2 separate regions of the Homo sapiens genome follow, and region 1 is linked to region 2. The links are contacts of gene promoters, found by promoter capture Hi-C in blood cells and fetal thymus (Javierre and others, 2016). All regions are on one chromosome and are shown on one strand. The core of a region is centred on a gene start or on the middle of the fragment in contact, and the rest is flanking DNA. Distances in the headings are between cores, read along the strand shown. Region 1 has its middle 110 kb from the start of GHITM. Region 2 holds the start of CDHR1 (cadherin related family member 1).

The links. Contacts are between HindIII fragments. The CHiCAGO score rates a contact against its expected background, and 5 or more counts as called.
Region 1: a contact is called between a fragment that was not itself captured here and the fragment with the promoter of CDHR1 in region 2, in 1 of 17 cell types (neutrophils). The highest score is 5.7, in neutrophils.

Annotation. Positions count from the first base shown.
Region 1 is chr10:84,025,613-84,031,986 of GRCh38, reverse strand. No RefSeq gene overlaps it. Among named protein-coding and RNA genes, the nearest start is that of GHITM, 110 kb to the left of the region's middle. The HindIII fragment of the contact is 2,537 bases long and covers 798-3,334 here.
Region 2 is chr10:84,192,489-84,197,456 of GRCh38, reverse strand. It overlaps CDHR1 (cadherin related family member 1), which reads right to left and starts at 2,920. Exons shown (of 17, transcript NM_033100.4): 1 at 2,642-2,920; 2 at 1,868-1,963; 3 at 807-952. The coding sequence starts at 2,696. RefSeq lists silencers at 2,705-2,824, 2,895-3,024. The HindIII fragment of the contact is 5,936 bases long and covers 1-4,968 here.

The DNA of each region.
Region 1 (6,374 bases), core at 817-3,316, 160 kb after region 2:
TGAGGGAGACTCTCTCCATGCCTGTCTCCTAGCTTCTGGGGTTTGCTGGGAATCTTTGGTGTTCCTTGGCTTTTGTTGCATCAGCCTGATCTCTGCCTTCATCTTCACTTGTGTGTCTCTGTGTTCTATAAGGACACTAGTCATCTCTGATTAGGGGCCCACTCTACTCCCACGTGACCTCGTCTTAACTAATTACATCCGCAATGACCCTATCTCCAAATAAGGTCATATTCTGAGGTGGTGAGGGTTAAACTTCAACATAAAAGTTTTGGTGGGACACAATTGAACCCATAACAATGAGTATAGACAAGCTTTAAAGTGGACAGAGAAATGGAATTTGGTAGAAGGAGATGTAGGATAAAAAATATATATAGTTAAAGATGAAATGATTAAAATTATGTACGTTGATAGGAATTAGCCAGTAGAAAGGAGAAAAATTGGTGATTCAGGATAGAGAGGGAACAATGGCTTGAGGGAGGTCCTTGAGTGGGTAAAAGGGTACAAGATCCATTGTCTAAGCAGAAGCATAGGCCCGAGAAATGAGTGAGGACAACCTTCCCTTAGTAGCAGGAGGGAAGGCAGAGATGTATGTGTACAGATGGGGGTAGGCTGGTAAACACGGCACTGGAAGGGTATGGAAGTTTTCTTTTGTTTGTGTTTTGTGAGGGAATGGAAATAAACTGATAGGGTGGGGAGGAGGTGAGAGGGGTTTGTCAAGAGAAGAGAGGCTGTGAAATAGTCTTATGGGATAATGAGGTAAAGGAATGTAGCAGAATTGCCAGGGCACACTAAAAGCTTGGTTTAGTAACTGTGAATTTAAGTCAGTATGTTTGGGTGCTTGTTTCCAGCTGCAGTTAACTGTGGGAGTGCAGGTACAGAGTAGGCACAAAGTTAGATTTAACTAGGGATTATTTTTTTTCCAGATGAAAACTGCAGAGTGAGAGGCAAAGAAGTTGAGGGAATTTCTAAGGGAGTGATTATAGGATGGACAATGAGTTTGGATCAGTGGATTGAAGGTCCTGGTAAGGTTAAGAGTTTCTGAGAATTGAAGTATTGTGGAATACATTGGGAAGATCACACCACTCCTCTGTTCAAAAGTCTCAATGGTGACACATCTGAGTAACAGCAAAAGTCCTTACCGTGGCTGATTAGGTTGCCCTACAAGATCTGCTTTCCCATCCCCTACCCATGTTTCTACCCTTATTTCCTCCTTCTCCCTCATGGTCCTTTTTGACCACACTGGTCTACTCATTGTTTCTTGAACACCCAGATAAGCTCCCATCTCATGTCCTTTGCATTTACTATTTGCTCTTTTGGGAACAGTCTTCTTCCAGATGACTTCCTGTCTCAGTCCTGCAGCATTCAGGTCTTAGCTCAAATATTTTGTGTGTGTATGTGTGTGTATTTCCCTGGCCACCCTTTAAATAAGTGGACCTCTTCAATACTGCCTAACCTTCTTTCTTGCTTTATTTTTTTGTAGCACTTATTACAAATTAAATGGTATACATTTGGTTTATCATCTCCCTCAATCCTATGTAAGTTCAAGAAGGGTATAGATTTTTGCCCATTTGGATCAGTCATATATCACCAACATCTTGAACAGTGCCTGGAACAACATTCATTTCATTGGATGAGTGAATGAAATATAGAAATGATGAACAGAGTGTAAGTCTTCAAACTGAACTTAGAGAGAAAGGACAAGTATGGATAAAGCATAAGACAATCTAGAATATGACTGAGAGTCATGGCAGATATACAGTAGAGGATAAATTTTTTGGAGAAGAGAATGTCAAGAAAATGAGAGGTCAGGGAGTCTTACTTCCAAGAATTTCAAAATCACTAGGAATTATGGTGAGTCACGTTAGAGAGAGTGACAAGGAATGGGGAGACAAAACCTAGGGATGCCGAGGTCCATTGAAGACTTCAATAGGAGGAAATGATACATTGTCTAATGGTGCAGGCTTCAAGGCTGGGTGTTTAGGGAAGAGAAAGGGAAATTGTTTTAGGATCTGCTACAAAGAACAAGCAGAATACCCTACCCCGTCACCAGGCCCAGTGATAGGAAGCATGTGCTTGAGAAAATCACCAGCCCTGGAGAAGAGTGCAGGGGAAGCAGTATTCTCAGGGAAAACAGTTTCTGTAAAGCGGAAAAACAAAGGGAACTCTTCAAAAAACATTATTGAAATAGAGATTTTGTTGATAATGCCTTGTGATTTTATAGGTTACAGAGGAAAAGGTCTTTAGGAGTTGGAGTAAAAGTAGGGATTTGAGAAGGAGAGGATCTGAGTGACCAGGAGTCTGAGAGTCTTGGTCTTCTTGTGATGATCAGGTAGAGAGCAAGGAGGAATTAGCCTTGCTGGAATCAATGTAAGCTATTTGGCAAAGCTGTGAATGTCAGAGAATGGGGAACGAAGAGAGAGGTGGTGGAATCCAGCCAGGGTTATTATATACTTGGGCATTTCCTCTTCCCTTCTGCCAATGGTAATGAGGAGGCCGGGAAGGATGGCCTTATCTGGAGCATACAGGACTGGAATAAATCCATATTCCCTTTGTATTAGGTTTCTAGGGCTGCCATCACAAAGCATCACAGACTGGGTGACTTTAACAATGGAAATTAATTTTCTCATGGTTCTGGAAAGTGAAAGCCAACATCAAGATGTTGGCAGGGTTGGTTCTTTCTGAGGCCCCTCTCCTTGACTTGCAGATGGCTAATGCAAGTCAAGGACCTAATGACCTCATTTTACCTTAATAACCTCTTTAAAGGCCTTAGCTCCAATACTGTCAAAATTGTTAGGGCTTCAACAGTTTTTGGGAAACACAATTCAGTCCATAACACCTTTCATTCCGGAATAAATACACAGCCACCCAAAGGGACCATTTTTATGTCATTGTTATTATTACTCCTTTATTGCAGAAGAAAACACAGACCCAGAAGTTTCAGTAACTTGCTGAATCACATTGCCAGGGCAGATTCTGAAACTCACTCTAAAGCATCAAGACAATCTTCCCTGTGCAGATCTAGACCAGTGTCTGGAACATAGTGGGTACAATAAAGAGTAAACAAATGAGTAATTTTTATTCCAAGTGACTTCTCTGTATTGCCAAAAATGAAATCTGAATAAGAAAGTTCATCACTAGTGAGGAAAGACAAAGAACTTCAACATTTATTGATTATCTGTAGAGTCCAGTATATTAACCAATTATGTTATACTTTATGTTGTTTGTTCCAGAATAACTGTGTTCAGATTGCAGCATAAAGAAGCCCTGTGGATACAAAGAATATTTAAGATATGGTAAAATAATTCAATTCCGAAATATAATTTCTGAACAAGCTTGGGAATAAATGCATGGTTTTCCACAATGATGACTTCAAAGGAAATGGTGCCCACTTGGATCTTTGATGGGGCCTTTCTATGTTGCCCAGGCTGACTTTGAACTCCTGGGCTAAGGGATTCTACCACCTAAGCCCCCCACATAACTGGGATTACCGGAGTGCGCTACTGTGCTTGGCCATGGATCTTTTAACATTTTATATACTAAAAGAGAAACATTTTTATGGCTTCAGTTCACATCCTTCTATTTGTATTATTGTAAGCAGATTACTGTGTTTGGAAAGGTCAGTTCTCAAGACTTCCCTTTCCACTTAGCAATTAGTTCCATGCTTTATATGTGCAATGTAAACTATATATCAATTACTTGGAGCATTTTTGTTTTGAAGTGTTTTCCTTTTTGTTTCATCTGAAGAAATGCTCACAGCCCATTTTATTAGACTCAGAAAAACCTTCTTGTCCTATTCCCAAATCATCCAATTTCAAGTTTGCCAAAGTTGACAGGTATGGGAGAGGTCTTTACCATACTGGTGAATTACATAAGGACAAATTTATTTGCTTTGATTTTTAAAGGCATCCAAGGAGGGGGGAAAGGGAAGTAAATGCTTGGTTATTTAGTACAGTCCTGACTCTCCATGTGGTTTCTAACTTCAGCATCCTGTCTTTGTTCACTGTACCTTCACGTTTCAGTGCTCCTCCAAGGGGGCTGTTGGGCTCCTGGAGTTATCTGTCCATCAAAGCCAGAAGCCAACTCCTGGAGGCTGAGCTTGAGCCCAGGCATGTCTAGGAGATGTCTCTATCTAGGTCCTACCTAACAGGTGATTTTCTCATTCTACCATGGGTAGCTATATTAATATAGCAGATACCTTGGACAGCAAAGTACCACCCACATTAGCTCCATGATGCTTGGGTCTGGAAAGCTGAATCTTTGAGGCTGTGTAACTCTCTAGATGGGACTGGGTTCATAAGACTTCAGTTCCATTGGTGATGTACAGGCTGCAAAGCACAGCACAGCGTAGGAAGGGCACTACATCCATCGGATGGCCATTCAGCTCTTCTTCCCCTGCTCTTCCAGCTCAGCCCACTTGCACCTATTGATACATTTTATCTATTGTCTTTTAAAAAGTGTATTGAGGTAAAATTGTTGTACAATAAACTGCATCCATTTAGAGTACACAGTTTAATGATGCATTTCCTGACAAATATATATATCCATGAAACCACCAAGATAATCAATATATAGAACATTTACATCATCCCCAAATTTCCTCCATGCCACTTTGTAGCCAATCCTATCCTGCCCTCCTCTCTAGTCGCAGACAACCACTATTCTGCTTTTTGTCTTTATAGATTAAGAAGCATTTTCTGAAAATTTGCATAAGTGAAATCATCCAGTAGGCACTCTTTTGGGTCTGACTTCTTTCACTTAGGATAATAATTTTGAGATTAAGTCTACCATTTTTTATTTATCCCTTTTGTGTCTTGTTCCTTCATTCTCCCTTTCTTCTTGTTTTTGAATTACTTAAATATTTTTGAATTTTTTTTTCTTTGTGGCATCCTTAGGAATTAGGCTATACATTTAGGCCAGTTATCAATTTGGTGCCATTCAATTCCAGATCCACCCTTTGTTTCCCCTTTGCCAACTGGTGCAATCTTATGCTCTGCCAATAGAGGGCATGAGAGGGCTGCAAGTCTGGCAGAAAAAAAAAAAAAAAAGCTTTTCCTGGTTCTTGGGGTCTTTTTTCTCCTATGGCATGGCTGCCAGCACACTAGTATGCAGAAGGTCCAGGAGTCCTCACTCTCCAGAGTGTTTTTCTGCTACCAGGAGGCCTCTGCCTGCTGACTAGCTCAGGTCCACCAGCACCCCAGCAGGCCATGCCTTGTGGGCCAGCTGCAGCTGGCTCGCACCCTCTGGTGGGTTTCTGTGCCATCCCATGGGCTGCTCCTGCAGACCAGCTTTATTCCACATAGCCTGGCAAATTTCTTTACCTCTGGAGGCCTGTGTGCTTCTGTGATGGCTACGGCCTCTCCAAAGAGGCTTTAATCTCAGCCTTGGAGGGAAAAGGGTCTTCCAAATTCTTAGTTCCTTCATTGTGTCATCTCTTTCAGCCCTAGAGATACAGGTTGAACATCTCTTATCCAGAATTCTTGGGGACAGAAGTGTTTTGGATTTTTAATTTTTTTTGGCATATTTACATATACATAATGTGCTATCTTGGGGATGGGACCCAAGTTTATGTTTCATATACATCCTATACAGATAGTGCAAAGGCAATTTCATATAGCAGTTTTTTTTTTATTATTATACTTTAAGTTCTGGGATACATGTGCAGAACGTGCAGTTTGTTACATAGGTATACACGTGACATGGTGGTTTGCTGCACCCATCAACCCATCATCTATATAAGGTATTTCTTCTAATGCTATCCCTCCCCTAGCCCCCCACCCCCCGACAGGCCCCGGTGTGTGATGTTCCCCTCTCTGCGTCCATGTGTTATCACTGTTCAACTCTCACTTATGAGTGAGAACATGCAGTGTTTGGTTTTCTGTTCCTTGTGTTAGTTTGCTGAGAATGATGGTTTCCAGCTTCATCCATGTCCCTGCAAAGGACATGAACTCATCCTTTTTTATGGCTGCATAGTATTCCATGGTGTATATGTGGCACATTTTCTTTATCCAGTTTATCATTGATGAGCACTTGGGTTGGTTCCAAGTCTTTGCTATTGTGAATAGTGCTGCAATAAACATACCTGTGCATGTGTCTTTATAGTAGAACATTTTATAATCCTTTGGGTATATACACAGTAATAGAAGTGCTGGGTCAAATGATATTTCTGGTTCTAGATCCTTGAGGAATTACCACACAGTCTTCCACAATGGTTGAACTAATTTACACTCCCACCAACAGTGTAAAAGCATTCCTATTTCTCCACATCCTCTCCAGCATCTGTTGTTTCCTCACTTTTTAATGATCGCCGTTCTAACTGGTGTGAGATGGTATCTCATTGTGGTTTTGATTTGCATTTCTTTAATGATCAGTGATGA
Region 2 (4,968 bases), core at 1,671-4,170:
AGACTTTTCCTCTTTCTTTTCCCTTTTCTCCCCTTTTCTCTCCACACCTCTCCACATTCCAGGGCTCTGCAGAGGCTCACATCCATGGTGTCTCAGTGCTCCCAGGATATGGTGAGACCTCAATGGGGAAGGGTATCGGATGTTGCCAGATCCCGCGGGTGCCAGGGAGTGGGGTACTGGCAGCACAGTCAGGCTCCACTGCTGTGTCCCCACAGCAGTCCCTGAGACCTCCCTTTCCTTTCTCTACCCTGTCCTGCAGCTAGTGGAGGCTGTCACGAGCTGGCAGCATCCCCACAGCTGAGGTCCAGTTAGCCACACACCAGGCTGCTATGCGGTCTGAAAAAGCCCATGCCCTGTTGCCTGCAAGTTCTCAAGTGTGTAGAGTGGAGGAGCTCTGCCAAACTCAGACTCACTGCCAACCACCCTTTCCAGCCTTGACCTGCTCTGAGTTCCTGTGCCTCTCCCAGGACAGGCTTGAAAAATCACTTTGTGAGGTTTCTTTCAGAAACCTCAAAGTGCAAACGGATTTATTTTTAATGGAACATGCTTAAAAGATTAGCAGGGCTGGCAGGTGCTCGTTAAAGGAGCCCACTCTTCGCTCTGTGTGAAGGAGGAGCATGAAAGTAAAGCCCACTCTGCTGATGGGAAGTGGCCCAGAGATCTCACAGAGTGGATGTGCCTGGGGTGTGCCCCCTCATCCCCTACTCTGTGGAGAGGTTCTAACCAATGTGCTCCAGGGGAACTTCAGCCCACCGAGGTCTGTCTACAGGCAGTGGCCCCGCAGCACTCCCCACACCTCCCCATACCTCTCTGTCCAGCTCTTCAACCAGGGTGATGTTTCCAAAAGTGGGGTCAACAGAAAAGACGCTTCTAGTGCTGGGGTCAAAGCTGATGTGGTAGGAGATGGGGTCTCCCTCAGGGTCTGTCCCATTCAGGGTGTATACGTGAGAGCCTGGAAGGAAACACAGTGGAGAGACATAGAATCTGAGACCCAACTTTTCCTAAAAGTGGCAGATGCTCAGGACCAACGATTCAGCTGTTTATAAAGTGACTATTCAACTCAGTGCCAAAGGTACTGCCCTGAACTTGGTGCTCATTGCTGGCCTCACCCCTGCTGGCTGCTTCCCTCTTTGTATGTTTATTCTTCACAGCGGGTGGTTGTGATGATCAGCCACTTTCCAGATTGTAATCTATAACACGGGTTACAGAGCAGGTGCAGGTCTGCCGTGCCTAACTGTAGTGCCTATGTTCTGCTCAGCCTGGTAATAACTCCTCTCTCAGGATCCAAGATTGAGGGGCTCCTGGGTACAGGGAAGGGGAAATGGGAGCAGCCATTAAGGCAGGAGGGGTGACCCACAGTGCACCACTGTCCCCGATGCCTGGACCTGGTTCTGCAGGGATTTCTGAGCCAGGTGCCTACTTTGCTCTGCTCTCCCTTTTCCCCGGGTTCCCACTACCCACAAAGTGAGGGAGAAGGAGTGTGAAATCTCCCCTTTCTCCTCCCCTCTCTCTGCATATCTCAGCAAGTTGGATGTTCTTAGGCCGTTTTAAAGCCTAGAGACCTGGGGCTCAGGGAGGTAAATACATTTGTTCAAGGTCACACAGCCATAAGGGGCAGCTGTAGCTGCCTGCCTCGCGGGGCGACCCTGTCTGTGGGGGGGAGCCCTGGTCTCCAGGACTGGCCAGACTTAAGTCGCCATGGCAGCAATGACCTTCTTTCCTGCCATTGCCCAGGGGAATTCGGAGAGCAAACAAGGAGCCCCCGGGCGCGCGCAGCAACTTGGGTGGTGCCTGGGGCACTTTGTGTTCTAAGTCTGCCTGCACCCCTCAGGGAGACCTATCGGGAGCAGGTGCCAGGGCTACTCACCTACAGGGGTGTCCTCTGGGAGGCTGAACAGAGCCATGTTTCCGTTGGTGCTGCCGACCCCGTTGTCGAAGAAGTGCGGGGCGAAGTTGGCCTGAGCTGGAAAAAGAACACAGAACAGACGGACACCCAGGCAAAGGACACCCAGACACCAGGAGGGAGCTTCGCACCAGCGCGGTCCCGCGTCAGGCCCAGCTACTGGGCAGGAGGGCGCTCCGCCTCCCCAACCCAAGTGCACCGAGGGACCCCACTGGGGCGCCGCCCAGAGGATGCCCCTGACCCCCACTCCGCCCCCGGTGGGCTCGGGCTTGTCAGGGACACGTAGCATGTGGGCGCTTAGAACCCAGGTAGCAATCCAACCCCTCCTTCATCAATGGGCAGATTGCACCCGCGCTCGGAGAGGGGCAGTGCCCCAGCCCAGCCAAGGTCAAGCCGCGAGTCAGGGCACTATCTCCTGCCCCACGCAGCATCGGAGCTGCCACCAAGCCTACAGCTCTGGTTCCCAGCAAGCGGAGAGCAGCGGGGGTCCGGGCGCCAAACCCTGGGGCCCTAGGATGCCAGCTCTGGAGAAGCGCCCCGGAGCTCCCCACTACTCCGCTACCCCACTCCCCACTACCGAATGGGCCAGGAAGATGGAAGGACTTCTCCGCTCCCGTCCACCAGCCCGAGTCCCACTCTGGAAGTGGTCCAGGACCATGTCCCTCTGGCCACCTGGGTGACGCCAGCGCCCATCTCCCTCGCCATCCACGCGGCCAGCGCGGCCCAGCGGCCACTCACCCAAGCAGAGGCGCAGCAGCCCCAGGGCCAGGGCGGCCCACCGGCAGCGCCTCATGTCTCCGCCGGCGCGGAGTGTCGCCTGCCGCCGCCGAGACCGGGCGCAGGGGCACGGAGCATGCCCTGGGCCCGCGGGGAGGGCAGAGACCACAATGGGGGTAGCGGCGACTGCAGCCGCGGCGGGAGGGGGCACGGGGCGGGAGCGGCGGGTGGCGTGAGGGCGCTAAGAGGATGACACGGCTCGGATCTGCTCCTGCCGGCCGCCTGACGAGACCAATTAGCGGCGCAGAGCGGAGCGACAGGCTCCCAGCCGCGGGCGGGGGCAGGAGGGCGTGACAAGAGGACTCCCCGCCCGCCACGCCCCCTTTGCCGGCGGCCCCCAGTCCTGGACAGGAGGACACCATGGGGGACAGGAGTGTCTTTCCCCCAAGTTGTCCTGAGGCTTTCCCAGGGTACTTAAGTCCTGGTGGGGCTTGGGCTTCGCAGTTTTCTTTTCTCATCAACTTCCTCTGTGACTTTCAGGGGCTTAGCTGTCTTCTCTGAGCTAAGCATTCCAGAAGAAAAGTTAGTGGAGCGGCCGAGAGGGCCTTGCCTTAGCAGTCTAAGCAGGTTCTATAAGCCGCGTGAGACCAAAGGCAAAGAGAAAGGGTGATGGATGGGCAGCAGATGGTAAGGGGTTATCAGGACCCCCTCTCTGTGATCTCAACCCATTCCTGCCCTGTTCCCCAGGCTGGACCACCTCTCCCAAAGGGTCTGATCTGTGTGGTGGGCAGCAGGGAGGACCCTCAGGTGTCCACCAGGGTGAGAGGCAGTTCTGCTCCCCATTCCCAGTCAGTGCCCAGTCTGGGACCATGAAGGGGCAGCTGACCCACTCTTCAAACCTTCCAAGGAAGAGTGAAGGGCCTGAAGGCAGAGTTAAGCCCCATCTTAGGACAGACTTGCACAGAGCTGGCCAAGATAGATCTGAACTGCCCGAGAGGCACGAGATCTCATTCCTAGAGGGTATTTACACAAAGCAAGGCACTGCTATTGGGGTCCTGGATGCTGATAACTTGAAGACACAGGTAAGCCCAGGAACCTTTTTGGCTGCTGGTAAAGCTCCTTGGGCTTCCTCGTTCTCCTGCTCTGACACTGGAGGGTGCTTGGAAATGCAGCCTGTTTTCCTTTTCCTGGTTGGGCCATTTATGGGGGTACAGGTCACTTCAAGCCCAAGCCAGGCCACTTCCCAGGATGCCCTTGGGTGGATGTGTTCTCAGATAGAGGAGATCCCTCCTCTGTGTGCTCCTGGGAGAGGTCTCCACAGCTGAGGACTCAGCATTCCCCCCCTCCCCCTGCCAGGGGCCTTTGAGGGAACAGAGCACCCCCCATCCCTTGGTCTAGCCCTACATGATCTACTGTGAGCAAGGGTCAGGGATTTGCAGAGAAGAAGGAAGATGAATCAATGGTTTTAGAATGTGCAGCAGTTTTCAGGCCTAATTGGCCGAAACCCTTGTTGAGTCTCCTTAGGCTTGGCTCTTTTGCTGAAAAGACACACTTTAAATTGCACAGATGTTCTGAATCTGCCTCCCAAAGTGCTGGGACAAAGCTAAGGCAAGTATTCTGCAAGTCCCATATAGGGATGTGGAGACTGAGTCTTGCCGTGGATTTCCCAGGAGCCAGAGGCAGAGCCAAGGTTTCCTGGAGTAGATGTCTTGGTGGGCCGAGAAAAGCCAGCTCTCCCTGGGTCCTGTTAGCCCTGCTCCTCACCAATCTAGGGCCGTTGATTTCTCTCTCCTCAGTTCCCTCAGTCAACAGCCATGCACTGGAGAGGGAAGGGGAAGGAGTAGCCTACATGCCATGTGCTGTATGTGTGCTTATGTATATTTGCCCATATTATCTTATTTGACCTGCACTGCTCTCCCAATGTGATTTTCTCTGCTTTGCAGAGGAGGGAGATTTCCTCATTGGCTGTGTACGACCAAGCAAGTGACTTATTCTCTCTGAGGTGCAGAGCTTGGATTCACATACAGTTTGGGTTGGCTCCAAAGAAGGTTCAAACTCTTTTTTTTTTTGAGCTGGAGTCTCACTCGGTCACCCAGGCTGGAGTGCAATGGCGGATCTCAGCTCACTGCAACCTCTGTCTCCTAGGTTCAAGTGATTCTCCTGCCTCAGCCTTTCAAATATTGGCATTACAGGTGCACGCCACCATGCCCAGCAAATTTTTTTTCTTTTTTTTTTTTTTGGTAGAGACGGGGTTTCACCATGTTGGCCAGGCTAGTCTTGAACTCCTGACCTCAGGTGATCCACCCATCTTGGCCTCCCAAAGTGCTGGGATTACAGGCATGAGCCAC